Regions from separate parts of the Homo sapiens genome. Here regions 1, 2, 3, 4, 6 and 7 are each linked to region 5. Evidence: promoter capture Hi-C in 16 types of primary human blood cells and fetal thymus (Javierre and others, 2016). All regions are on one chromosome and are shown on one strand. The core of a region is centred on a gene start or on the middle of the fragment in contact, and the rest is flanking DNA. Distances in the headings are between cores, read along the strand shown.

What was found. Contacts are between HindIII fragments. The CHiCAGO score rates a contact against its expected background, and 5 or more counts as called.
Region 1: a fragment that was not itself captured here is called in contact with the fragment with the promoter of TGFB2 in region 5 in 1 of 17 cell types (M1 macrophages); the score reaches 5.1 in M1 macrophages.
Region 2: a fragment that was not itself captured here is called in contact with the fragment with the promoter of TGFB2 in region 5 in 3 of 17 cell types (endothelial precursors, M0 macrophages and total B cells); the score reaches 17.6 in endothelial precursors.
Region 3: a fragment that was not itself captured here is called in contact with the fragment with the promoter of TGFB2 in region 5 in 5 of 17 cell types (total B cells, naive B cells, total CD4 T cells and 2 more); the score reaches 7.7 in total B cells.
Region 4: a fragment that was not itself captured here is called in contact with the fragment with the promoter of TGFB2 in region 5 in 1 of 17 cell types (megakaryocytes); the score reaches 5.2 in megakaryocytes.
Region 6: a fragment that was not itself captured here is called in contact with the fragment with the promoter of TGFB2 in region 5 in 1 of 17 cell types (naive CD4 T cells); the score reaches 5.5 in naive CD4 T cells.
Region 7: a fragment that was not itself captured here is called in contact with the fragment with the promoter of TGFB2 in region 5 in 1 of 17 cell types (total B cells); the score reaches 5.1 in total B cells.

What each region holds. Positions count from the first base shown.
Region 1 is chr1:219,130,276-219,133,833 of GRCh38, reverse strand. All of the region lies in intron 3 of LYPLAL1-DT (LYPLAL1 divergent transcript), which reads left to right. Among named protein-coding and RNA genes, the nearest start is that of LYPLAL1-DT, 42 kb to the left of the region's middle. The HindIII fragment of the contact is 4,011 bases long and covers 1-3,360 here.
Region 2 is chr1:219,065,560-219,069,061 of GRCh38, reverse strand. No RefSeq gene overlaps it. Among named protein-coding and RNA genes, the nearest start is that of LYPLAL1-DT, 110 kb to the left of the region's middle. RefSeq lists a silencer at 2,449-2,649. The HindIII fragment of the contact is 1,261 bases long and covers 1,192-2,452 here.
Region 3 is chr1:219,163,494-219,167,327 of GRCh38, reverse strand. All of the region lies in intron 1 of LYPLAL1-DT (LYPLAL1 divergent transcript), which reads left to right. Among named protein-coding and RNA genes, the nearest start is that of LYPLAL1-DT, 8.4 kb to the left of the region's middle. The HindIII fragment of the contact is 2,675 bases long and covers 469-3,143 here.
Region 4 is chr1:219,224,564-219,228,050 of GRCh38, reverse strand. It overlaps a transcript of LYPLAL1 not described here. Among named protein-coding and RNA genes, the nearest start is that of LYPLAL1, 52 kb to the right of the region's middle. The HindIII fragment of the contact is 5,390 bases long and covers 1-3,487 here.
Region 5 is chr1:218,343,159-218,346,637 of GRCh38, reverse strand. It overlaps TGFB2 (transforming growth factor beta 2), which reads right to left and starts at 1,302. Exons shown (of 7, transcript NM_003238.6): 1 at 1-1,302. It overlaps TGFB2-AS1 (TGFB2 antisense RNA 1), which reads left to right and starts at 960. Exons shown (of 3, transcript NR_046268.1): 1 at 960-1,035; 2 at 1,250-1,463; 3 at 2,176-2,442. RefSeq lists an enhancer at 885-934 and a silencer at 1,315-1,374. The HindIII fragment of the contact is 5,586 bases long and covers 1-3,479 here.
Region 6 is chr1:219,333,560-219,337,240 of GRCh38, reverse strand. It overlaps a transcript of LYPLAL1 not described here. Among named protein-coding and RNA genes, the nearest start is that of LYPLAL1, 160 kb to the right of the region's middle. The HindIII fragment of the contact is 365 bases long and covers 1,430-1,794 here.
Region 7 is chr1:219,091,658-219,095,514 of GRCh38, reverse strand. The region is part of intron 3 of LYPLAL1-DT (LYPLAL1 divergent transcript); the gene reads left to right. Among named protein-coding and RNA genes, the nearest start is that of LYPLAL1-DT, 80 kb to the left of the region's middle. The HindIII fragment of the contact is 4,959 bases long and covers 1-3,857 here.

The DNA of each region.
Region 1 (3,558 bases), core at 106-2,605, 790 kb before region 5:
TTTGGGAGAAATTTATAGTTTAAATAATAATAGCCCCTCCTCAAACTAAACTGCCTTTGTAAAACTAATGAAAGGCCACCAGGTTAGGAGGATGAGAGGGGCCTGAATTCTGCTAAGATGTAGATGTAGTTAAATAATTACCAGCTGTTATTCCAGAGGTCACAAGATTCGCAACTTCTTCAATTACTCCTATAAATAACATCACTATTGTAGAACCTAAAATTGGCCTTTTAAGATGTTTTTTCAGGCTTCTGCCTTTTTGACAACCAGATGGTTCCATCCAGACTAGTGACTCCTCTGTGGCCCCCACCCACAAGGGGACTCAGTGCACAATGACTCTTTTCCACACCCCTATGATTGCATCTCCAACCAACCAGCAGCACCCATTCCCTATCCTCTTACCCGCCAAATTGTTCTTGAAAAACCCTAACCACTCGATTGTTGGGTCAGCTGATTTGAGTCATAATAAAACTCCAGTCTCCTGTTTAGCAGACTGTATGTGTATTAAACTCTTTCTCTGTGCAATTCCTATCTTGATAAATAGGCTATATCTGGGCAGCAGGCAAGACTTACACATTTGGTGGTTACACTACCCACTCAACACTTCCTATCCTCACCTGCTTAACTTTTTTTGATACTCTTTGTCACCTTCAGCACACTGTATTTTAGACTTAGTTATGATGTTCAATGTCTATCTCTCCCTACGAGAATATAAGCCCTGAGGACAGAGATTTTTGTCTTTGCCTTTTTTTCTCCCTGTTTATATCCCCAGGTCACAAAGCAGTATTTGGCAGCTTCTTGATTTATAATAAATATGTGTTAATGAGTGCCTATATAATTAAACTAATTTGCAAATGCATTGGCATGAAGACAACTGTATATATAGGAATTTTTAAAGAGATGTTTATTAATATTTTGAGGATGTGTTTTTTGAATAATGCTTAAAATAAGTACTTCTTTTGCTAACAAATAGGCATCTAATGAAAAAAGAAATTGTCATTTTATTTTCTGAATTCCAGTCACCTTCTTTCTTCCCTGCCTGGGCCAGCCAGAAGAAAGGGTAGCATTTTGCTAAGTTCTAAAAAATTCTTCATTCTGCTCTATGTCATTTAGTGTTAAATTCAATCTGATTATTGTCTGTATATTATAGTTATATTCTTATATTATGAATGTCTTATAGAAATGCAGTTACTAGGAATTAATGCTGATCATTTCAGAAAAAAATACAAAATTAATGAATAAATACATGTAGACCTGGTACACCCTGTGTAATAAAGCAATTATGCATATCCTTCAACTAAAGTTTGCCTATGTTCACAATAATCACTTCTGCCCATTTGAGAATATATGTGCTTGCACATCTTGAAGCATTTAATGTTATTCACATCAAGTTTTGGCACCTCATAGAGCATAAGCCATGCCTAGGATAGTTAATCATGGGAGCTGACATTCTTCATTTTCTGTACCTTAAAGTTAAAACTTATTTAAGGTAATCTTTTTTTTTCATATTTTTTCACCAAAGTAAAACTTCCAGAGCATGAAATAATGCAGTTAGTGTAACAGATTTTAAAAAAAAAAAAAAAAAACTACAGTAACTTTTTCTTGTGGTTATATAACGGCAAGGTCAAACTAAGGTGCCATCTGTCTAGATTCCTATCTCAAAATTCAAAAGGAATAACTGGGCATTGGGAAGCCTGCCTCACTGACAAAAATCAGTGACCAACACAAGACAGGGAAATGACGAAAATCCTCATCATTGGCCTGTTTTTTTCTGTGCAAATAGGTCATCAGGAGGAACCATGTATGGTGGCTATCTGGATGTTTGTTTCCTAAGAGCCCAGTGGGAGTTTCTAGTGCCTCCCCAAACTTCCTGCCTCGATTTGAAGTGTCTCTACAGTCTGATTCTCTTCATCAGCTATCCAAACTTATTTCCCAGTAATTTCATTCTAAAGCCTCTGTTTCTGTCATAATGATCCTGACTGTCTCCAGCCCTATTGCACTCACAGCTGTTTCTGTGCCTTATTTAAGTTGTTCCCTCTGCTCATATTCACCCTCTGTTCCACCCTGACACAGTTTTAGAAATTTTAAAAACGCATTTAAGATTTACCTCCTCTAAGATACATTTCCTGGAGAAACCAATTCATACAATCACTTTTCTCGTTCTTTAAAAAATTCATTAATTAATTCATTCACACTATACTTGAAATCTACCCATGTGCCAGATCCTGCTGGAAGTAATGAGGACAAAAGTGAATAAGAATTAATAAACTCAGCTAGGCACAGTGGCCCACGCCTGTTTCCCAACAGTTTGAGAGGCCAAGGCAGGTAGATCACTTGAGGCCAGGAGTTAGAGACCAGCCTGGCCCACATGTGAAACTCCGTCTCTGCTAAGAATACAAAAATTAGCCAGGTGTGGTGGTGTGCACCTGTAATCACAGCTACTCGGGAGGCTGAGGCACGAGAATCACTTGAACCCAGAGGAGGAGGTTGCAGTGAGCTGAGAATGCTCCACTGCACTCCAGCCTGGGTGATAGAGCAAGACCTTATCTCAAAAAAAAAAAAAAGATTAATAAACTCACAATTCATGGTGAAAAATGATGGAAAATAACAGAGTGTTGTATAAGTACTCAAGAGAAGTCACTGATTCCTGTCTGCTGCTCTTTATATACTTTACCCAAATTCACCAATTTCAACATTTTGTTACATTTGTTTTTCTTGCTTGCTTTTTCTCCCTACATTTCCTGAACTACTTGTGAATAGATTGCATATATTATTTCCCTTTACTCTTTAATAATCTGTGTATTATTTTCAAAGAACATTTCTCACATAACCACACTCAAATGGTCAAATTCAGAAAATGTACAATTGATACAATATATACTTTTATGCTTTGCTATTTTCCTTTGATATATTATGGAAGTAACTCCCTACTGCTTCAGTGAATTCTTCTTCATTTTCTTTTATAGCTACATAATACTATACTATTGTATTGTGTGCATGTAACATAGTATATTTAACCAATCTCCTATGCCTGGATATTTAGGTAGTTTCCAATATTTTGCAATTACAAATAATGAGGTAATGAATAACCCCTTGCATGTATTTTCATATTGTTCAGGGTAAATCCCAGGAAGTGGAATGGCTGCATGAAAAGATAAATACATACACAGTTTTGTTAAATATTGCCAAATCTGCCCTTCCATAAGAGTTAGGCCATTTTGCCTTCCTTTCAGCAACATATGAAAGAATCTTGCCAGTAGTGTATTTATATGCTTTTGAGGTTTTGCCAATATGATGGATAAGAAAAGTTATCTCAGCGAGCTTTAGTGTACATTTCTACTTCTGTGAGTAGAATAAGCTTTACATGTAGGGACCACTTGGTTAACTATATCTTTATGCTTTTGCTCATTTTCAACAGGATTTTAAAATCTTTTTTCTCAATTTTCAAAGCTTTTTACATATTAGGAATATTAGCATTTTTCTTTCATATTTGTTGCAGTAATTTTTTTCTGTTTTCCATTTATCTTTGAGTTTACTTATGGTAATTTTTTGTTTGTT
Region 2 (3,502 bases), core at 573-3,072, 720 kb before region 5:
TGAATGATGACATTAATAAATACCATTTTGGACAGGTAAGGTGGAGCAAAAAGGAGTTAAGGAAAGAAAATGGCAAGGAGAAGGGAGGAAAGAGCAGCAATAAAGACAAACCACATTTCCCTTATATGTTTACTTAGGATGCAGCTTTAACCTTTCTTTGACCATAAATTAGATCCACTATTCATGACTTTGTTTGCAAAATTACTTCCATGCCACACTTACGATGCATAGCATTGTGATTATATATAATGCTAGATGTGTCTTTTTTTACAGAGAGCTGAAAGATGTAATAATTTATTTTGTTCATGGAGAAAAGTCTTTTCTTATAGGTGCAGAGAAGGCCATTTCCCATCTAATTTTCTTATTTCAGATTAATAAAGGAGAGTATTTATATCCAAATATATATCTACAATTTAACCTAATAAGCATAGACATTGGAGTCTTTAAGATGATTTTGCCTGAGTGTCATACTTAAAAACAAAGCACAATGAAAATGGGGAAATTGGCCAGGTGAGGTGGCTCACACTTGTAATCCCAGCACTTTGGGAGGCCAAGGCGGGTGGATCACGAGGTCAAGAGTTCAAGACCAGCCTAGCCAAGAGGGTAAAACCCCGTCTCTACTAAAACTACAAAAATTAGCCAGGCGTGGTGGCAGGCATCTATAATCCCAGCTACTCGGGAGGCTGAGGCAAAAGAATCGCTTAAACCCAGGCAGCAGAAGTTGTAGTGAGCCGAAATCACGCCACTGTACTCTGGCCTGGGTAACAGAGTGAAATTCTGTGTCAAAAAAGAGAGAAAGAAAGAAAGAAAGAGAGAAAGAGAGAAAGAGAGAGAGAAAGGAAATGGGGAAATTGACATTTGTTGATTATTTCTTAGGTGCCTGGGGTCTGCCCATCCTGTAAAAGTGGCACTGACGCTACACAATCTAGTTTAATCTGTATCCCTGTATTATCAAATCAAATCATTCCTCAATCCACTAATAAGATAATCAAGCTGGTAGTTAGCTTTGTGCAAATAATATACCTTCTGCTTTACTAAATCATAGAGTTTTTAGATGAAATACATTCTGAGGAGATAGATGTGTTCATAATAGGTAGTCAAAAATAGGGTATGTTTTAAAAGGTAAAATGCTACTTTAAATACATAGGATTATTGAGAAAATTCAAAGAGATACTGTGTCCACTCAAAGCTTTTTTTAAAAAGAGAGATAATAATAAGACTATATTGATTTTATAAAATGGATGACTAAAGAGTAAAAATGAAGATTCTATAGTATTGACTCGACACAGCAGAGGAATCAAGATGGTCTCCCTGAACTCCTTTTATCTGATAATGTTCCATAGCACTTACCCCAAATCACCAAATTTTTAGCCAGTTTTTAAAAAACGAACTTTGACACTTGGCAAATTCATGAGGAAGACATGTATCCAGGTTTTATGGCCCAGCTCAACATTGGACTGTCTTGGGCCTAGCACTCTTTCGGCTCTTTAATTCTCTGAATAATGTCCGCCTATACAGCTGAGAGAAATTTGTCATCTTCTCAGTTGTTATAAGTCATCACTTTCATGCCCTACCTACAGCACATGTGAATTGTGGGGGCTTAAGGGAAAGTGCGCTTGTGCATGTCAAATTGCCTACAAGAATGGACATGGGGGTTGGAGGCAAGCCCTTTCCCACCTCTCCAAAGAGCAGCAGAGATGAGATTCCTATAGTTATTTATTGAACTTGGATTTTCAATCATTGCTGAGGTATAATCATGCCTTCTCTTGTTTTGTTTTTTTTCTTTTACAATTACAGTACTTCATTATTGCCACAGGGGGAACTGTTGGCTTAATTTTGCTTTGGAGACACTGCTGCTGAAATTATTAAGCTAATGATTTATGCCCTGTGTGATACAGCAATCTCTTGTGCTTAAAATGGTTACTATGTTTTGTTTACTGTTTATAACTACCAGTGGTTGTGCCACAAGAAACCTCTGCCAGCTTGCAGAGTTTATTTATCCCTGTGGATCTTTAGAAACCACTGATTAATATAGAAAAAATTTGAATGGTTTATATTAAAAAAATCCCATAAGCTATGAATTAAACCACTGTGCTCTGCTATATAGGAAGAAAAGTTAAGTGAGAATGAACAATGGATGTCAAAACCTACTGACTCTCATATTTGCTTCTGATTTTATCAAAGTGGAAAATATGAGTACTTTTCAGGAATACAGTGCTGTGACTCCATCAGTTTTGGGCAATGAGATCACCAGTATTTCCCCTTGGGTGCTGCACATTTTACCATATTAAGGAACCAATTTGCTTAGAGAAATGTTGCACATGTTTAAAGGCTGTTAAGTTTGATGGCTGGCAGAACTCTCCCATTTAGCCCTGAGGCTGGGCCTTCGTGAATGAAGGCTTTACAACTGGCCTGCATTTTTTGTTCTGAGGGCTTTTTGTAACCAAAAGCTTACACGGGGCAATCATAGGGCAGGGAGGGACATGGTTTGCAAGTGTTGATTTGTTTAAAATGGCAAAATGGTTCTTATACAATGTTTAAGTCTTGACACTGCTCTTTCACCAAGAGAAGCAAAGAAAATATCACTGTTGTTTTGGGCAGCTTTAGCCCAATTCCACACCTTCAGTCTTAAGCATCACTTGCTTACACTTCAAGTATACCTTCCTGCTGGTTTCTTAACCTCATCAGTTCTTTTGGCTTGGTTTTGACTTCAAACTAGTTCTCCACCTCTCTCTTTTGGACAGCTCCACATTTCTGTTCCTCCTCTGATCAGCCAGTTCTGATTATTCCCAGGGCACCTTTTCTCTATGGTCTCAAGTGATTCAGTCAAACAAAGAGTACCCTTCCCTGAGCAGACCTTGGCCATCACACACAACCAGCCATCCCAAGTACAAGACAATGCTGACATTTTTGCAACAAAGCTGAATGTAACGCTAAAACTTTTCTCAGTCAGGGATCTGTAAATGTGATGAATGTAGACAACTCTGCCTAAAAGACAGAACTTGAGCAATTCAGTTTCTAAGCAGGAAAGTGAGGGACAGACCTTAATTATGGGAACAAAACTGTCCTTATGTTTTAATTTCATAATTTGAGCATCTGTATATAGCTTTAGCCACAGATATTCCCTTTATATCAGACTTCCTGTACTAAAGTGCTGTCAGACATTTAAGAGGAAGATATGGGTAGATGGTTAAAACACCAAAGAATAATAACATCTGTTTTATTTCTCCTCAGAACCCATTAATTTTCTTCACAAAGATGCACACTTTGGACATAAAGAATATTTATGATATTACAGTGTGTGGGAGTATGGAAAACATATTAGCCAAGTGGCAACTTTAATTAAGTATACCTGCCTAATTTCATAGGGGTTTTCATTCAGTATGTGTTTTCATCTAGAGCCTTAGAACACTTCCCTCTTGTGTTAGAAAAATGAAATTAAAGAAACAGAAACTCTGATGTAATTTAATTTAAATTACATCAGAATTACACTAAATGTTTT
Region 3 (3,834 bases), core at 557-3,056, 820 kb before region 5:
AGCTAGAACATGACCATGAGCAAGAAATAACTAGGTCATAAAAGACAAGGAAACAAAAGAGCCATGATACAGGAAGGCTGGTAGCTTAAAGTGCGGCATGTGTGATTGGAGTACTGAGGTCAGTCAGCCAATGAAGAAGAGACTCTGTACTATGGCAAGGCAATTAAATTGATGGTGACAATGGCGGGGGTATTTATAGTCTCATTTAAGATTTAGCTTAAAGTTACAGACTCTCTCAAGTGAAAGGGAAACCAATATACAACACACACACACACACACACACACACACACAGTACTCTGAATGCCCGTTAGAGGGTTTGTGAACCCACCAAAGCTAATGAGTAGACCCCTTGAAATTGGTGGATCTCAGAGTGTGACTCACCTGCCTCATACTTTTATGCTTTTGAGGGCAGAAACACATAAAATTAATGGCCACAGGTCCGTTCCAATTCCCAACAAGGCAAAGCTTATGAGAGGTCCTGTGCTTTATGTCCTCAACTAAATCAAAGCAGTACTATTTACCTGGTGCAAGCTACAACTGTCCAGTTTAGTTGATATAGTAAAAATAATTAACTTTTATGGTGGTTGTCTCAGAAATTTGTCTATTATATATACCTATCAGTAAAAAGTTTTTAGAACATCTCTTATAAATGTGTATTTTTAATTTATAAATTATATGAATGCACTATTGTAGTAATGCATTATGTGCATACTGAACATAGAAAAAAGTAGAAATGTAAAACAGGGAAGAAAAGTAAAATATAAACAAATTCTTATGTTTTCTTTCCACATGCCCAAACAACTGTCTTGTACACCCATAAGGTGTAGTAATCCTATTTAGAAAATACTATTCTTTAGGTTAATTATGCAAATCTAAGCATGGAAATAAAAGCAAATAATGTCATTTTGATAGGAATGCCTCATTTTAAGAAAGTATAATTTATATCCCAAAGTCTAAATTTACAAGATAGAGTACGTATAACTTATATCTCAATGAGTGTCTGTTTCTGTGACCTTCTTGCAGGCAAACTGGATTTTTTTTTCATTTTCATTCCTCAGTGTCTATAAAAGCATTCTTCACAGAGTTGTCTTTTTAAAAAGATGCTTTTATAGTGCATCTATTAGAAGGATTGATACCAGTTTTCCTAAAGCTCTTTAGGAACACACCTCTACTTATGTTCCCCATTTTATATCTGGAGACATCCGGTCTTATATTCTACTCTTTTTACCATGTTGAACACCAAGAGTGTTAAAAATGTGCTGTGCCACCTCCTGTCCCTTCAGCTTTGCCCATTCTAATCTCAGCCAGGCTTGTAGCCCTCCTCTATTTACTTCTTCAACTGCCTACTCATTCTTCAAAACTCAGGTCTGCTGTTTCTTCCTTTGATCAGTCCTCTTCTACAGGCTTTTAGCAAGCTCAGCTACCACGAACATAGCCATTTGCACATTTGACTGTTTACTTTTCTGCCTTTCCCTCTTTATACCAACATTGTGGGCCTGAGAAACAATAATATCAACAAAAATAAAGAGCTTCCCTTTAGTGTTGGCTCTGTGCTAAGTCCTTCATCATTCTCTCACTTAAAAATAGGATGCAGGGGTGTGTGTGTGTGTGTGTGTGTGTGTGTGTGTGTGTGTGTGTGTGTGTGTTTGTAGAAAGAATTTTTGCTTATTTTTTTCTCATATTACTTATTAATTTATGCTCACATGGTCATTATAGAATGCATAATACACAAAGGACATTCACAGATTATATTAACCACATCTGTTTCAATAGGAAAAATATAAAAGACAAGCAATTTACTCAATAATTTAGATTTAAAAAAACACGGTACACATCGGTGTTTGGAACCTTAACTGACAATCTCAACTGTTGCTTTAATATGTACCAATGACAGTCTTTGAAAAACTATTTATCCAGGTATTTTATTTCCCTTTTCTAACAATTTGTATATTCTTCTTGCTAGCATTAAAATCAAAATGGAAAAACATTAATAATATTTTATTTATGAAGACAAGTGAGTTGACTGTAATAAAAATATTAATTCATGTCTTGCTTTTCAGTAAGAAATACCACCCATGAAGTCTGCTGGCACTTGCTGCTAGTAATAGTATAATTTCAAGAATGCCAGAAAAAGTGCATACCTTCCCTTGCAAAAGTGTGAATTATTTATTTTTCTTAATAGAAAATGTAAAGTGCATCAGTGTTTGGCTGAAAACAATTTAACAGCATATTTTTACCTAGAAAATGGGAAACATCGAAAGGACTTGTCATAAATTAACATAAACCATAATAATTTATCTCCCTTTCTATAGAGCGTAGGCATATAATTTAAAATCTAAAAACATTTAAAGGATTAGATAATAAATTACATTCAGCTTTCATTAATTTAGCTATTCTTTTTTTTTTTAAAGGGAAAGTTCACCTATGTTACACAGATTTAAGTCTTCCTCTTCTTCTCAAAAAGGTATCCTATTTATGTAGGGTTTTTACATCATGCAGATGGATGTGATAGACAAAAAAGGTATTTTTCATGGTTATTGAAATCATCATATATACTAACAATTTCCCTCTCTTGCCATGCTTGTTAGAGAATAGTTGAGTTTGGTCACATGGCATGGTTAACATCTGGAAGTCACTCAAGGTAATAATTACCACGGATTTGTTGCTTATTCAGAGGAAACATACCAGAATGGAAGTAAAGAAGGCGAGTTTTATGTCTCTTTTGACACACAAGGACTCAAATCCCATCATTGTCTTTACGTCATCCATTACGCCAGTAAAAAGATTGAACTGTCAATAAATACGTTCTTTGTCTTAAAACAAACTTCCAGAAAACGTAAAAATGCACTGCAAATGAAATTTCTTGATTATTTCAGTTCAAACAGGACATGATTTTCATTTTGACCCATGGCCCTAGCCATAAACACAAGGTGCATGCATTTTTTTCTACAATTTGTGCTTTGTGTAAAGCACCAAGTTTCTCTCATAACATTATTAACCAGACTTGTTCATTTCTGAGTATGAAAAAAAATACAGAGTGTAATATAAAAAGTTCAGCCATACTCTTTATACTGAATAGCAATCATTTAACTGTGTTCCACAGATCTCCAAGGCATTTTCAATAGTATCAATCTAAGAAGCTTCTCTAGCAATTTGTTTAAATCTAGTTTAATAATGACATTTTCATTTTGTCTCTATGGCTATTCCTGTAGATTCTATGGCATTTAAAAGGTACATATGAGCTCAAAAAAAAAAGACACAAATCTTGTAGAGAATCAGTTTTTTTTTTTGTTTAAATAGTGGCCTACGTCACAAGTTAGAAAAAAAGTAAAGGTTTTTCTTTACATACAAAGCTTATGCTAATTATGGCAATTGTTTTGGGATCTGTAACTTAAAATGAAGCTCTTTGAAGGCAGAACTTTAATTTGCTATGGTTCTTGTTCTCAGAAGCTGTATGTGTTTTTAATTATTGTCTTTATTGACCAGTGATTGGCTAAATCCTTTTCTCAAAAGACGTCACCACGTTCCACATTACTATGTTCCTAGCTGTTCTGCTGATGTTTCTTGCCAGCCTCCCACGTTGTTTGAAGAAGTACTTACTGCATCTATAAGAGTTTGTCAGGATCTTGCTGTTTGCAGTTCATCCACTTAAACTCATTAAAGCCTTTAGGGTGTTTTGTGCCTAGACCAGTGAAGTTGTATTGTGATCAACATAATTTGAATTCAAGTGGATTAAAATCTCGTTGTAAGGGATACAAAATCAGCAATAACTCACATACCCAGATGTCTCATTCTAATGCAAAACTGTCCAGTATTCACCACTTGCCAATGTG
Region 4 (3,487 bases), core at 931-3,430, 880 kb before region 5:
CCAGAGAGGGAGTCAGTCTGAGAGCAAAACCAGCCCTGTTAGCATGGCGGTGACAAGTGATGGGATGAACTTGGGTCCTGAACAGCCTGGCTACACTGTGGAGGGCTCTAGGCTTACTCAACCTCTGGACTTCTGTGTGTATGAAGCAATATCTTTATTGCTTAAGTCAGTTTGAGTTAGTATTTTCTATTACATGCTGTTGCAAAGCATCCAAGCTGATAGAATATCCTTTTAAAATAGACAATACGGAATAAGTTATTATTTAAACATATACTGTTCTCCGTTAAGAAAACCATATCATGGAGAAAGGGTGATATAATAACATTCCCTCTTTTCTTCTATAAGGTGTTAAAATCCTAAGATTAAATTTTTTAAATGTCATTTTTCAATTTTTTTTTGCCAAGTCCTATGCAATCTAAAAACACTCCTGTGGCTGTTTTCCAAAGTCATGTTGTACAGCAAAAGTTTCCATTTAAACTACAAACTCCTTCCCCAAATGGGACACACTAAATTTAAGGAAAGCTGGCATTTAAAGTGCAAGACTACAGAATTTTCAGCACTATAACTGATCAAAATGAACAAAAAGATGCAAAAATAACCTTGCAAGTGTTAATACTTATAAGTAGGAAGAAGCCCAAATTGATTTCATAAACTAAGAAATATTAGCCAGGAAAAACACAATATCGAAACAGACACCACAAATCAACATCCAACTCCTGTCTTTGAAAGAGGAAGCAGAGTGGTGGGAAGTCAGTAAAGACAATTCTGAAAATCTTCTGAACTCCTCTGATTTAGACTTTTTTTCTCGAATGGAATATGGATGTGCTACTAGAATGTAAACTCCTCAGAGCAGAGATTTTCGTCTGCGTTGCTTACCAAAATCTCTCAGCATTTACAATAATGTTCAATAAATGTTCATTGAATTAATTCATACATACACTGTCATCTTGGCAGAATTAGGCCCCTGCATAGGGGTGTGAACAAGTTCAAACAAACGATGCAGTTTTTTCCACATATCACTCATTCAGTACAAAGACAGAAGAGTTGAAATTATCTTAAAGTATACGTTGGTACTTTCTACTTGCCTGGTTGTTATAACACAATCATAAGATATTGAATTGGTTTTGCAAGTAACTTAATGAAGTACATAATACTTAAACTTAATGAGACTATCTTTATATATGATTTTAAACTTTTCCCCTAGTTAATTCACATTCCTCATTATATTCATCTTTACAACAACTACCAACAGTTGCTTGAAAATTAACTCTTCTATTTTTGAATAAAGAAAATGAGGCAAAATAGTTTGGCAATAAATATTAACTAATAAACAGTTAACTGTTGAATATCTATTGCACACAAGATATCAGAGTACCACAGCATGCATGTTAGAGTTGTTGGTCAGCAACAAAGCTGGATCAGAATTTGAAGTCATTGAGTATTCACCTTTTTTTTTTTTCTATGTGTTATTCCAAAGAGATTTCACATCAGCTACCAGTTACTTTCAGCTGATAGCAGCTATCTATTTGATGTGCTGTGTTGAGAAGGGTTAAGAACCTACGTGGCTTCTCAGGGAAGAATATTTTGACCGATGATCAGTGTCTTCCAAGGACAGAGTGGGAGCAGAATGCATGCTGTATATTTGGCAGCATTTTATAGTCAAAAACAAAATGTTGCCTTTATAAAAACTAAATCTAACCTCAGGGAAAACAAAGGCAAAAAACAGAGGATCAGATCCCTGGATTCTTATGAAATAAATATAAAAGAACATCCAAATAAACTAGCAGTTAAAAAAGCCAACCAGAAATGATAGTTATGTCATTGTTCAGTATTGCATGTCAATTGTGTGGCAATCACTGTACTAGGCACTAAGAGAAAAAAGAAAAGATAAAGGGATAGATAGCCCTTAGCCTTGAGTTCAAAATATGTAGTGGGTACAGGACCAACATGTAAAAGATGAATACAGAAACATGGAGAACAGAGAACATGAGTGACAACTTCTACCATAGACACTTGGGCAAGGCATTGCGTCACTCAAAACTTGTGTCTAAAACGTTTAGTTTGTCAATTGAGGGAGAAGGAAAGAGCATTCCAGGTAGAAGGAATAATATGCTACACACAAAGTCATGAAAAGGTTTGGCACGTCCAGGAAATATTGGCATGGTAGAAGCATCAGGTGTGTGTGTATGTGTGTGTGTCTATCTGTCTGTGCATATGCACTGTAACATGGGAGACGAGAGGCAGGAGGTGAAGCTGTGATGAAGCTGGTAAGGACCAGATTGTGAAGGGATTTACTGCTGAGCTAAAGAATTTGAATGTTATTCTGAAGACAGACTAACATGGGGAGCCAGCAGGGCTTATTAGGTGGTGGAACAGACCAATAACTCTCAGGGCACATGGGAAATAAATAGGTGGAAGAGAGGAGAAACCAGAGGCTGGGAGATCCATCCAAACTGATTATGAGGAGGGTAGAACTAAGAGGGAGTCAACAAGGATGATTTAGATGTCACAATGGAAAGATGTTGCTTTTATAGAACATCAAAAGCATCTGTTAACTGACAAGTGAGAAGATGAGAGGGGGGATGAATAGATGCTGACATAATGATATTATATGGAGAAAAAGTCATTTTTTAAAGATCACAAAAGGAGAAGCAGGTTCCAGGATGAACCACAAAAACAGTAACTCAACTTCTGTCCTGGGCTCTTTATATTAAATCTCACCAGAAACCCATTTTACAGGTAAGGAAACAAATACTTGAAGAGATTAGCATTTTTCCCCCCAAATCACGCATTTGGTAAATGTAAGAATTTTGCATTGTTTTGAACATATTATGCCTGGTGAGCAACCAGGAGAGGAGGCCCAGCAGGAAGTTAGAAACATGAATCTGGAACTAGGATGAGTGCTTAGGGCCAGAGGTATAGACATGGAGCCAGCAGTCTGAAGCCATAGAAATAGCAGCTCAGCCAGAGAGAGAATAAAAAGAAACAATAGAGTCAAAAGGACCTTCCACATTAAGGGGCTAACAATGAGTGGGTCATTGAAAGAAACAGGAAAATAGCTGAGAGAGACAAGAAAAACTAGACTGCAAGGTCCAAGTTTCTAGAATCGGAGGTTAATCAAACCCTATAAAGATATGGAAAAGATAAGGACTGAAGCAGGCTATGGAATTAGAAAATTAGAACTCTGAAGGAAATGATTAATAACCTCCAAAAACTCCTAAATACATAATTCTACACTATGACTATAAACATTAGATTGGGCCTGCTATCACACTGAGGCAGAGGGAGAGACCAATGCATTCCTTTAGCAGAACAGTAAAAACTGAGCTAAAAGCAGCATGAATATTAAAATGTCTACAAAGGAAATAGTTCTGAATCTACAACATTTGAATGTTATATGAATTTTCAGCCATATTTTTTTCTGAACACTACCATTATGGCAGTGTGGCACAGTGACAATAACATCCATAAGGAGAATTATGTTTTT
Region 5 (3,479 bases), core at 53-2,552:
TCTCAAAGTATAGATCAAGGAGAGTTGTTTGGTTTTTTGTTGTTGTTGTTTTTGATGCGAAACTTTTGCAAACAATCTAGTCAATGCCCAACAGAAAAACGTATCCTGCTTGAATTCCTTTAAAAAGAAAAGGCCAGTAGTTCCAAAAGTGGAAATATTAATACGGGACGGGCAGAGGGAACCCTGACTTTGGCGAGTAAGAAGAAAAAAATTCTTGGAGCAATGAGATGGGGAAAAAAAGAGACGAGTGGCTATTAAGTAGAAATAAATTTAAGAGGAGGAAGTGGAGTTCAGTGTGTCAGTCTCGGGTGCGGAGTGGCGGATCTGAACTCGGCTCCTCCGGCCAAAAGGGAAGAGATGAAAAGGTCCCGGGGCTGGCAGCTGGCGAACTGACGGGAGGGGCGCCGGGAGCGCGGTGAGGGGGGCCGCCGAGGCTGACCTGGGCTGAAATTTATATATTTAAAGAAGGAGCGGTTCGGTCCTGCCTTCCACTGCGGCGCTGAGAGCAGGAGCAGCAGCAGCTCCGGAGCAGAGAAGCGCACACGTGTGTGCGTGCGTGTGTGTGTGTGTGTGTGTGTGTGCGTGTGCGCGCGCTGGGGGCGAGCCCAGCGCACCGCGGGGAGGAGGGTGCGCTTCGCAGGGCGCTCGGTACTCGGTCGGGTGCCGCAGGGGCCGCAGAGGCTGCTGAGGCGGCGCGGATCCTGCTCTGGGAGCTGCGCTCCGTGGCCTACACCCTGGCGGGCGCGCGCTGACCCGCTTGGTTACTCCACGTTGCTGCCGCCGCCGCTTGCAAACGCTTCCAGCCTCCAGCTCCCTCCTTCTCCTGCTCCTCCTTCTCTTGCTCCAAACGCCAACCCAGCCACAGACGATCAGCCGTCGCGGTTGCGTTCACCCCCTGCGGATCACAACGGCAGCCCTTGCGACACCCTGGCTGGGGAGTTTTATTCCTGAGGGGGTTGCGCAGGGGCTCCCTTGGACTCCCACCCTTTCCCAACCTCTGCTGGCTTCTCCCCAACGTGGAATTGCTCGCTTAGGGTAGGTAGGCACTTGCCACCCTAAAATAGATCCTCTCTGTCTCCTCCTGTCTGCAGCCGGGCAGCCCCTCAGTTTGTTCCTGGATGACTCCCTAGACCGTCAGGCTAATATTCTCCATCCCCCTCCCCTGCCTCTTTCACTTGCGCTCTCGCTCTGCTGTCTCTTTCTCTCTTTCTCTTTCTATCTCTATCTCAATCTGTCTTTCTCTTGTCAGGAGCTTCTGGAGCTCCGCTCGGAGCGAACCTTCTGCTGCCAGCAGATAACATCACGATCTTGCCGGGGAGGGGAGATTTATAAGTTCTCTCTGAACCACGTGTCTGCCTTCAACAAAGTGACGTGCTAGGATTACAGTCAGAAGTCCTCTCGTTACTTAGACCACGAGCTCTCCCCGAACCGTTGAGGGAGTGTGGAAATGAGGACCGCTGTGGGTAAGGGAGGAAGGAGGTGGAATGTGCGCCCTGACAACAGTGATTTACGGTATTTACTTTCCAGTCATTTTGGACAGGTCTGTTGAAGGAAGGACAATCAAGTCTCCCGTTTTTACTTAGTGTAGCTCAGTCACAGCCTCCCAAGCTGAATCACTTGCTCTAGAAGGGAAGGCTTCCCTCCTGTATTATGTGTGCACACGCACCCCTATGGGAGGGAGCACTAGTCTACTCAGGGCCAGGCCAGTACTGAAGACATACCTTCCAATCTTTTAAATTCATGTCCTACCTCTTATTTTCTGGGATACCTTAGCAGGTTGCCATCCCAGAATTTATTTTGTTAGTTTGTTGTTTACAATGTACCCCTCTGTTTGTGAACTGCTGGAAAACAGAGATCCATCAATTTTACCTAAAGAATAAGGTATACTTGTTTGTTTTACTGATTTGAATGAATGGTCACCTTTATAATTTGCTGCCTAAGCCACTTCTTGTATGGCTTTCTTCTTCACCTTCTTGCTAGGCTAAACATTATCAACCAACTTCATTCTTTCCATAGCATTAATCCAGGAAGCTGGAATTTTAAGTGTTTGATGTCTACTGTTCTACACTACTCATAACTTGACATTTTCAATTTCAACTAAGTCTAAATTAGATGAATACAAGAATAACTCTTACCACTGTTCCACCTTCCCTTTTTCTTTTATTTTACCTTTAGTTACTCAAAGTCAACATTTTCATTTCGGCATGACTCTGCAGCCATACTGACCAGACAGATGATTTAAACTGGAAACTCTGTTGAATGTACTCCCAAACCCAAGATCTCTATACTGTTCTCTACTTCAGATGTTCCTGAGTTCAGAAAAGTCACAAAGAACTTTCTATCACTTTTGGAATTTATACTTCAGTTGTGTATGGGGCCTAGGTTATTAGTAGAGCACTGAATAAATAAAATAATAATAGCTAACATATACTACACTTAGTAATTTGATGTGTGTTGTGTATGGTCATTTAATCTTCACTATGAACCTATAAAGTGGGTCTTATTATCCATATCTGGCAGATGAGGAGACTGAGGTACAAAGAAGTTAAGTACTTTGTTCGAGACCACAGTAAGTGGTAGAGCTGGATTTTTGCAGTCAGGATCCACTATGTTCTTACCTACTATGTACTTCTGAGAAACAATGGTCCCAGAATATGTTCTGACAAACAGGAATTCTGGAGTCAAACAAGTTTGGGAGATACTGGGTACTCTCCTGTCCTCTTAGATTCCTCATTCTGGAACATTATCATGTTAAAGGCTCTGAAACTCCTGTAGAAGAGAAAACCTTTTCACTCTTTTAACCCAGCATTTTCCAAACTCCCTTGAATACAGAATTTTTTCCATTATCACACATTGAAAAACTCTGGAATAAAATAATTGTTCCAACCCACTTCTGAATAATTCTAAAAATTATGTATAAATCAGCACCAGCAGGTTCCTTTCCTTGATACCAGTTTTGAGTTGAAGCAAAGCTACCATCCCAGTAGCCCAAGAAAAAGATAATCAAGAGGCGCTACTGTCAGACTAGTAGTTTCATCCAGTTAGGTCCTCCCTCTGAGTTCAGTTTGAGAACTGCAGTAGGCTAGCTCTACAGATTGGACAAAAAGTGAATATTCTTACACCTGTGGCCATTATAGACACAGAGCAGGAGCTCCAAACCAGAGCTACTGAGAGAAGATGCTGCTGTGGAATATGGCTGGTTACCTGAATTAGCTATCACTGTATTTTGCTGAGGATACAGGTTCAGCTTCCACAAGCCAGTGAGCATCTTTCATGTTTATAGACAACCTTCTTGGTACAGACACTGATGCACCTTAAGTAGATTCAGATTAGAGTGTGGATAGAGTAGCAAAAGTTCATTTACATCACTTCTAGGAAAACAGCGCAAGCCATAAATTCTGATGGCCACCCCTCTTCCTGACATAGACATACACACTTTTGTTCATAATACTTAGTTTACTGAGTACCTATTGCTCACT
Region 6 (3,681 bases), core at 363-2,862, 990 kb before region 5:
GTATGTAAAAGGGATTTTGTATATGTGATTAAGTTAAAGATCTTAAACAAGAGAGATAATCCTGGTTGATCAGAGTGGATCCAATGCCCAATGTAATCACGAGATTTCTTAGAAAAGAGAGGCAGGATATTCAGAAGTTAAGGAGGAGAAGACAATGAGAAGATAAAAGCAGAGAATGATGTAATGCAGTCACAGGCCAAGGAATGCTAGCACCCTCTAAAAACTGGGAGAGGTAAGAAACAGGCTCCCCTGGAGCCTTCAGAAAAAACAGCCCCGCTGACAACCTGATTCCAGCCCAGTAGAACTCATTTCTTGTGATGTCATAAGTCATTAAATTTATGGTAATTTTGAAAGCAGACCTAGGAAAATAATACAGTCCTATATCTCAAAATAATATTGAGGCAGATTTCTTTTACTCTACTGAATTCAGTAGTGAAAGCACAATTAAGAAAAAAGAAACATTGCTTTCCATTTCCCAAGCTGATTGGTTATAGGTAGGTTGCACATTGCCATGAGAAAATAACATTTATGGACACTTTGATATCATTACCTCCAACAATGATTTTATGGCAATACTAGTTGTAGGAATAATAATAGTAGAAATGGCAAGTAAATTGGCTAAGGCATGTAAAGGACTTTGTACTTTTGCTGGCCCAAGGAACTCAGAAAATAGTAACAATTGTTATTATCAATAGTTGCAGTGTTCCCAATGGCAACAGTGTTGGTATTGGTATCACTGCTAGTAAAAAAAGTCACCATTTTTGAGTGCATAACATATCCCAGGTACTGTCTTAAGTATTTTTTACTCATTATCTATTTTAATCCTCACATAACACAATAAAATAGGTGTCATTATCTTGGTGAATGAAGAATGTGAATCTCTGGGAGATTAAATTATTTCCCCAATATATCATGACAAGTAAGTAGTAACAGTAGAATTAATTAAACCTTGGTATGCTCACTAATAAAATTCAGGCTTTTTGCAACAACTCAATTTTGAAGCCATCATCCCTGTGCCTCCAAAATTAGCTGGTGTAGCTAATAGAACTCTTGGTTGAGAGAAACTATATCCTTGATAAAAGGGGATATCATGGGACATCAAAGATACACTTTGTTGATGTAACACCTGTGCCAAGAGTTTTTTGTCAACACTGTTTGTGAGCAATGTTGTCAAAATGTTCTCTAGGTGACCAAACAGAAAGACATTCGACCTCTGCTGAGAATGTCTTTCTGTTTGGTCACCTAGAGAACACCCAGGTATTATTTAATGTGATAATCAGGCATCACTTGCTCTGTGAAGCCTTTCTTGACATCACCTTTTCTTGACTTCACTCTTCTATGCCCCTGCTCAAATATTTTTCTTATTAGGGTCTGTCCACAACTTACTTCGTTGTGCTAATTGGGTTTGTATCTGTCTCTCTCATAAGCTTTGTGATATCAACAAACCTGTTTATTGGCAACTGTGTATCCAGTTGTAGCACAATTCTGGGCGCATTAAAGTGTTCAGTGGATATTTAGTGATGAAGATACAAGTGAATAAATAATATGTAAATGAATAGATTAATGAATTATTTTACCATGAAGGAGCAAGGAGAGTTCTCATTCTAGAGGGAAGAGTTTTTAGTGCAGTTTTTTAAAAAATTTTATTCTGCAACACAACTACCTAAATAAGAATACAATATAAACCCCATTTTTTCTCTTACCAAATTACTGTTTCTAATTACATATCGCACTTTATGTTTCTTATAAATTCTAATGTTTTTTTTTCAGCTAAGTTAAAATGAAAGTTAAGCTTATGTGTATGTGAAGATATACCCCAGAAAAATTACATATAAATGAGAAAATGCTGTGTTCTAAAATCTGGAATATGATGCCTTTTTGAAGTAGGTCCTGATTCTTTCACTTTTGTAGTTAACTTAATAAGTAATTCAGCAGTTCTTACCCTGAAAAATATACAGAAGTGGTAACTTGAACCAATGAAATGAGTGTGAACAGGAGGGGATAGTATCGATGGAATTGATTCAAGATACACAAATACAGGTGGTAATTGAAAATAGAGCTGAGAAAACAAAATATGAGACCTAAACTAATAAAAAATTCTTCTGCTCAGTTCTCTATTAATGTAAAAATGTAGTTGGATGAAGAAAATTTGACTTGATTTATGAGAGTTTTCTGTATATGGAGGAAATGTTTTGAGAAGTGGGTTTGGAAAGAAGGTAGATGTGGTAGAGCAGAACCATGAGTGCAAGTATGGGAAAGAAGAAATTTGGGAGCACAAACAAGCATGGTAAAAATTTGGAAAACCATGCTATAAAATATACAAATTCTCCTTTTCATTTATTAGGTTTTCTGTGCCTTCCATGTTACCAAGAATGCTTTTGTGAGTGGAGTATTGGTAGGTTAATACAACAAGAGTTTAAAAGTCTAAGGTAAGGTATGCAGAGGAATAAAAAATAGTCTTCACACAGAAATGGCTAGCATAATAATAATAAGTACACAATACAAAACTTTAAGTTTTTGATTTATTCATTCTAAAAACAATTACTGGGAATCTATTTCATACTAAGGATTATATTAGATGCCGGATAAAATAGATACAAATTTTACAATTATTTCTTTATCAAAACTCAGCCATGGTGTAAAAAGTTGTTATACAAAATGCCATGCAAATGCAGATTAAACACACACACACACACACACACACACACACACACCCCTCTTCATTATGATTGGGTCAGAAAGCTGTCATTTATGCTGGAAAAGTAGGGATTTCACTGAAAGAAAAAAGGAAAATGTATTCTAGATATAGAAGAAAAAGTGGTCAATGGCCCAGGGTCATAAAAATTGGCAGAGTATTAGGGGAGGGCAAATAATCCTACAACATTAGAAGATTAAAGTATAAATGGGGAGCAGAATTGCAGTGGGAGATGAGACTGATGATCAAAGCAGTCCAACAAATTGATCAGATATTATTCTCAGTTATATCAGAAAAGAAACTCAGAGTTAAGAGGGTTGCTCAAAGTCACAAGGTTGATATAATTAAGAAATGTATTCTCTCTCCTTTTTCAAGGTTCTTTCTATTATAGTAATGTTTTCAAAACCATGATCAAAGAAGCCTTGGGATTCTATGATAGAGTTTCAGGAGCTACAAGGGAAGGTGAAGGGGAAACTGAATAAACAAGGAAGGCTTCATTTGAAGTCTTTAAATAATAGACATTTTACATTAGAAATGTTTGAAAAATGTTTTCCATCATAAAGTTGAGAGACATTGCCCTATGTCAATCTTTCTCAAGTCAATCTCATGGTTTCAAAATTAGATTGCAAAAGAATTAATAATATTACCATAAACAGAAAGAGGGCAAGTTGGCAGCTGTCTCCTGGACAAGGTGCTAGCTGGTGACATATGAGAAAGGCTGATTCAGCTGGACAGTGAGACATAGCTTAGTAAGTAGAGCTAGAATCCATTCAGGATACTATAAGAAGAAAAGCTAGACCTGAGAACGAGCTGAAGGATCAGTGATACCTAGGAGTTTTGCCTTGCTGAATAATCTGTCCTAAAACTTGTTCTTTCTGTAATTTTAAAAATTCTTATTTCTCTTATAAACATTTCTTTTAAGAACTTCAATTATCTCTTTATGTCTAAGAGAAAATCTTTCTCTTGGGTTAATAGAGAAAGGGGTT
Region 7 (3,857 bases), core at 227-2,726, 750 kb before region 5:
TGAGACTCACCCACAATTATCTTCTCTATTGTGTTTGTGTGGTTTTGATACTAGGGGAATACTGACCTTATAGAAAGAGTTGAGAAATAGCCCCTCTTTTTCCATATTCTAGAATTGCAATACAATAGAATGGCTGCTCCTTGTAAATCAACTAAACAATCTTAGTGTGATATTTTCTTTTTAGGAAGATTTTCAACCCCCAATTCATTCTCTTCAGTATACACAAGATTAATACAGGCTCTCAGTTTGTGTCTTGAGTAAGTTTGGTATGGTTTTATTTTTAGAAATTTTCTTTATCTAAATTGAAATTTATTGTTTTTATGTATTTTATTTTGCTTTCATGTTTTAAAAATCCCTGTTATGTTTGTGATATACCCACATTTTCATTTTTAAAATTTTTCATTGAGATTTCTTTATCTTTTTGATTAAGTTATCAGAGGTTTATATTTTTTATTTCAATGTAACCAACTTCTGATTTATTTATATTTCCTATTATATCTGTTTTCTGTTCATTGATTGGCATTGATACATTCATTCTATTTTTTTTAACATGACAATTACATCATTAATTTTCAGCATTTATCTTTTTCAAAAAATAAGCACTTTAAAGCTATAAATTTTTCCTCAAAATATCAATTCTGCTTTATCTCTTGCTTTGATATTTTCATTCTTATCTAAGTATTTTATAATTCCTATTATGGTTAATTTTTTATGAGGTATCTTAACTTATCAATGGTTTTCTATTTTCTATTTTTATTTTTTAGGAATGCATAGTAGGTATATATGTTTATGGGGCATATCAGACATTTTGATAAAGGAATACAATGGGTAATAATCACATCAAGGTAAATGGAGTATCATCATCTCAAGCATTTATTACTTTGTTGTGTTACAAACATTCCAGTTATACTCTTATGATATTTAAAAATGTACAAATTATTGACTATAGTCATCATGCTGTGCTATCAAATACTAGATCTTATTCATTCTAACTATATTTTTGTACTCATTTCCTTCCCAACCTCTGGTAACGATTATTTTACTCTCTATTACCATGAGTTAAATTGTTTTAAGTTTCAACTATCAAAAATAAGGGAGAACATGTGAAGTTTGTCTTTTGGTGATTGGCTTGTTTCATTTAACATAATGTTCCATCCATATCTTGGCAAATGACAGGATCTTATTTTTTAAGGCTGAATTATACTTCATTGTGTATGTGTACCACATTTTCTATGTCCATTTGCCTGTTGATGGAAACTTAGGTTGCTTCTAAATTTGAATATTGTGAATAGTGCAGCAATACATATGGGAGTACAGAAATATCTTCAACACACTGATTTCATTTTCTTTGGATAAATATTCAGAAGGGGAACTGCTGGATCATTTAGTAGTTCTATATTTAGTTTTTTGAAGAACCACCATACTGTTCTCTATAGTGGCTAAACCCATGTACATTCTCACCAATGGTGTTTGAGGATTCCCTTTTCTCCACATCCTTGCCAGCATTCATTATTGCCTTTATTTTGGATAAAAGCCATTTTAAGTGGGATAAGATGATATTTGATTTGCATTTATTTGATGATCAGTGATGTTGAGCATCTTTTCACATACCTATTTGCCATTTATATGTCTTCTTTTGAGAAATGACTATTTGGACATTTTGCCCATTTTTAAATTGGATTATTAGATTTTTTTCCAATTGTTTGAGCTCCTTATATATTCTGGTTATAAATTCCTTGACAGATGGATAGTTTGAAAATTTTTCTCCCATTCTGTGGGTTGTCTCTTCACTTTGTTAAATTTTTTTTCTGTGCAGACGCTTTTTAACTTGATGTGATCCCATTTGCCCATTTTTGCTATGGTTATCTCTGTTTTTGAGGTGTTATTCAAGAAACCTTTGCCCAGACCAATGTCCTGTGGAGTTTTCCCAATGTTTTCTTTTGATAGTTTAATAGTCTTAGGTCTTAGATTTAGCTCTTTAATACATTTTGATTTGATTTTTGTAGATGATGAAAAATAGGGTTCTAGCTTCATTCTTCTGCCTATAGACGTCTAGTTTTCCTAGCACAATTTATTTAAGAGATTGTCTTTCTCCACTGTATGTTCTTGGCGCCTTTGTCAAAAATAAATTCAACATAGCTGTATGGATTTGTTTCTGATTTATCTATTCTGTTTCTTTGGTCTATGTGTCTGTTTTTATGCCAGTACCATGCTGTTTTGGTTACTATAGCTCTATAGAATAATTCAAAATCAGAGAATGTGCTTCCTCTCATTTTGTTCTTTTTGCTCAGAATGACTTTGGCTATTCTGGGTCTTTTGTGATTTCACATGAATTTTGGAATGATTTTTTTCTATTAATGTGAAGATTGTATTGGTATTTTAATAATGATTGCACTGAATCTGTAGATTACTTTGAATAGTGCAGACATTTTAACAATATTGATTCTTCCAATCCATGAGCATAGAGTATCTTTTCATTTTTTTCTGGTCTCCTCAATGTCTTGCATCAATGTTTTATAGAGTGCATTGTAGATATCTTTAAATTCTTTAGTTAAATTCATTTCTAGGTATGTTATTTTATTTGTAGCTATTGTAACTGGGATTACTTTCTTGATTTCTTTTTCAGATTGTTCACTGATGTAATATGTAAATACTATTGATTTTTATATGTTGATTTTGTATCCCTCAACTTTGCTGAATTTGTTTATTGGTTCTAATAGATTTTTGTTAAGGTCTTTAGGTATTTTTCAGATATAAGACCATATCATCTGCAAACAAAGATGACTTACTTCTTTTCAATTTGGATGTTCTTTATATCTTTTTCTTGTCTGATTGCTCTAACTAGAACTTCCAGTACTATGTTGAATAATAGTGGTGAAAGTGGATGTTTCGGTTTGTTCCAGATCTTAGAGAAAAAGTTTTCAGTTTTTCTGTATTCAGTGTGATGCTAGCTGTGTGTCTGTCATATATGGTTTTTATTGTGTTGAGATATATACTTCTATACCACATTTTTAGGGCTTTTATTATGAAAGGAGGTTGAATTTTATCTAATGCTTTTTACCTTCGGTTGAAATGATTGCATGTTTTTGTCCTTCATTCTTTTGAAATGATATATCACATTGATTTATTTGCATTTGCTGAATCATTCTTGCATCCCTGGCATAAATCCCTCTTGGTCATGATGAATTATCTTTTAAATGTGTTGTTGAATTTGGTTTGTGAGTATTTTGTTGAGGATTTTTGCATCAGTATTCATGTGGAACATTGGCCTGTAGTTTTCTTATTTTGATGTCTCTGTCTGATTTTGGTATCAGGGTAATACTGGCCTCACAGAATGAGTAAGGAAGTATTTGCTTCTTTATTTTTTTGGAATTGTTTGAATAGGATTAGATTAATATTAGTTCTTTAAATTTTGGGTGAAATTTAGCAGTTGAAGGCTTTGGGTCTCTGATTTTTCTTTACTGGGATACTTTTTAATATGGTGTTGAACTCATTACTTGTTATTGGTCTATTTAGATTTTGGAAATCTTCATGATTCGGTCTTGGTAGGTTGTATGTGTCTAGGATTCAATCTATTTCTTCTAGGTTTTCCAATTTACTGGCATGTAGTTGCTCATAGTAGTCTCTAATGATTCTCTGAACTGCAGTATCAGTTGTAATACCTCCTTTTTATCTCTCATTTTATTTATTTGGGTCTTCTATCTTTATGTCTTTGGCTAAATGTTTATCAATTTTATTTTTTTAAAATAAGCCACCTTTTTGTTTAATTGATATTTTGTATTGTTTGTTTTGTTTCAATTTCATTTATTTCTGCTTTGATCTTTATTATTTCTTTTCTCCTACTAATATTGGCTTTG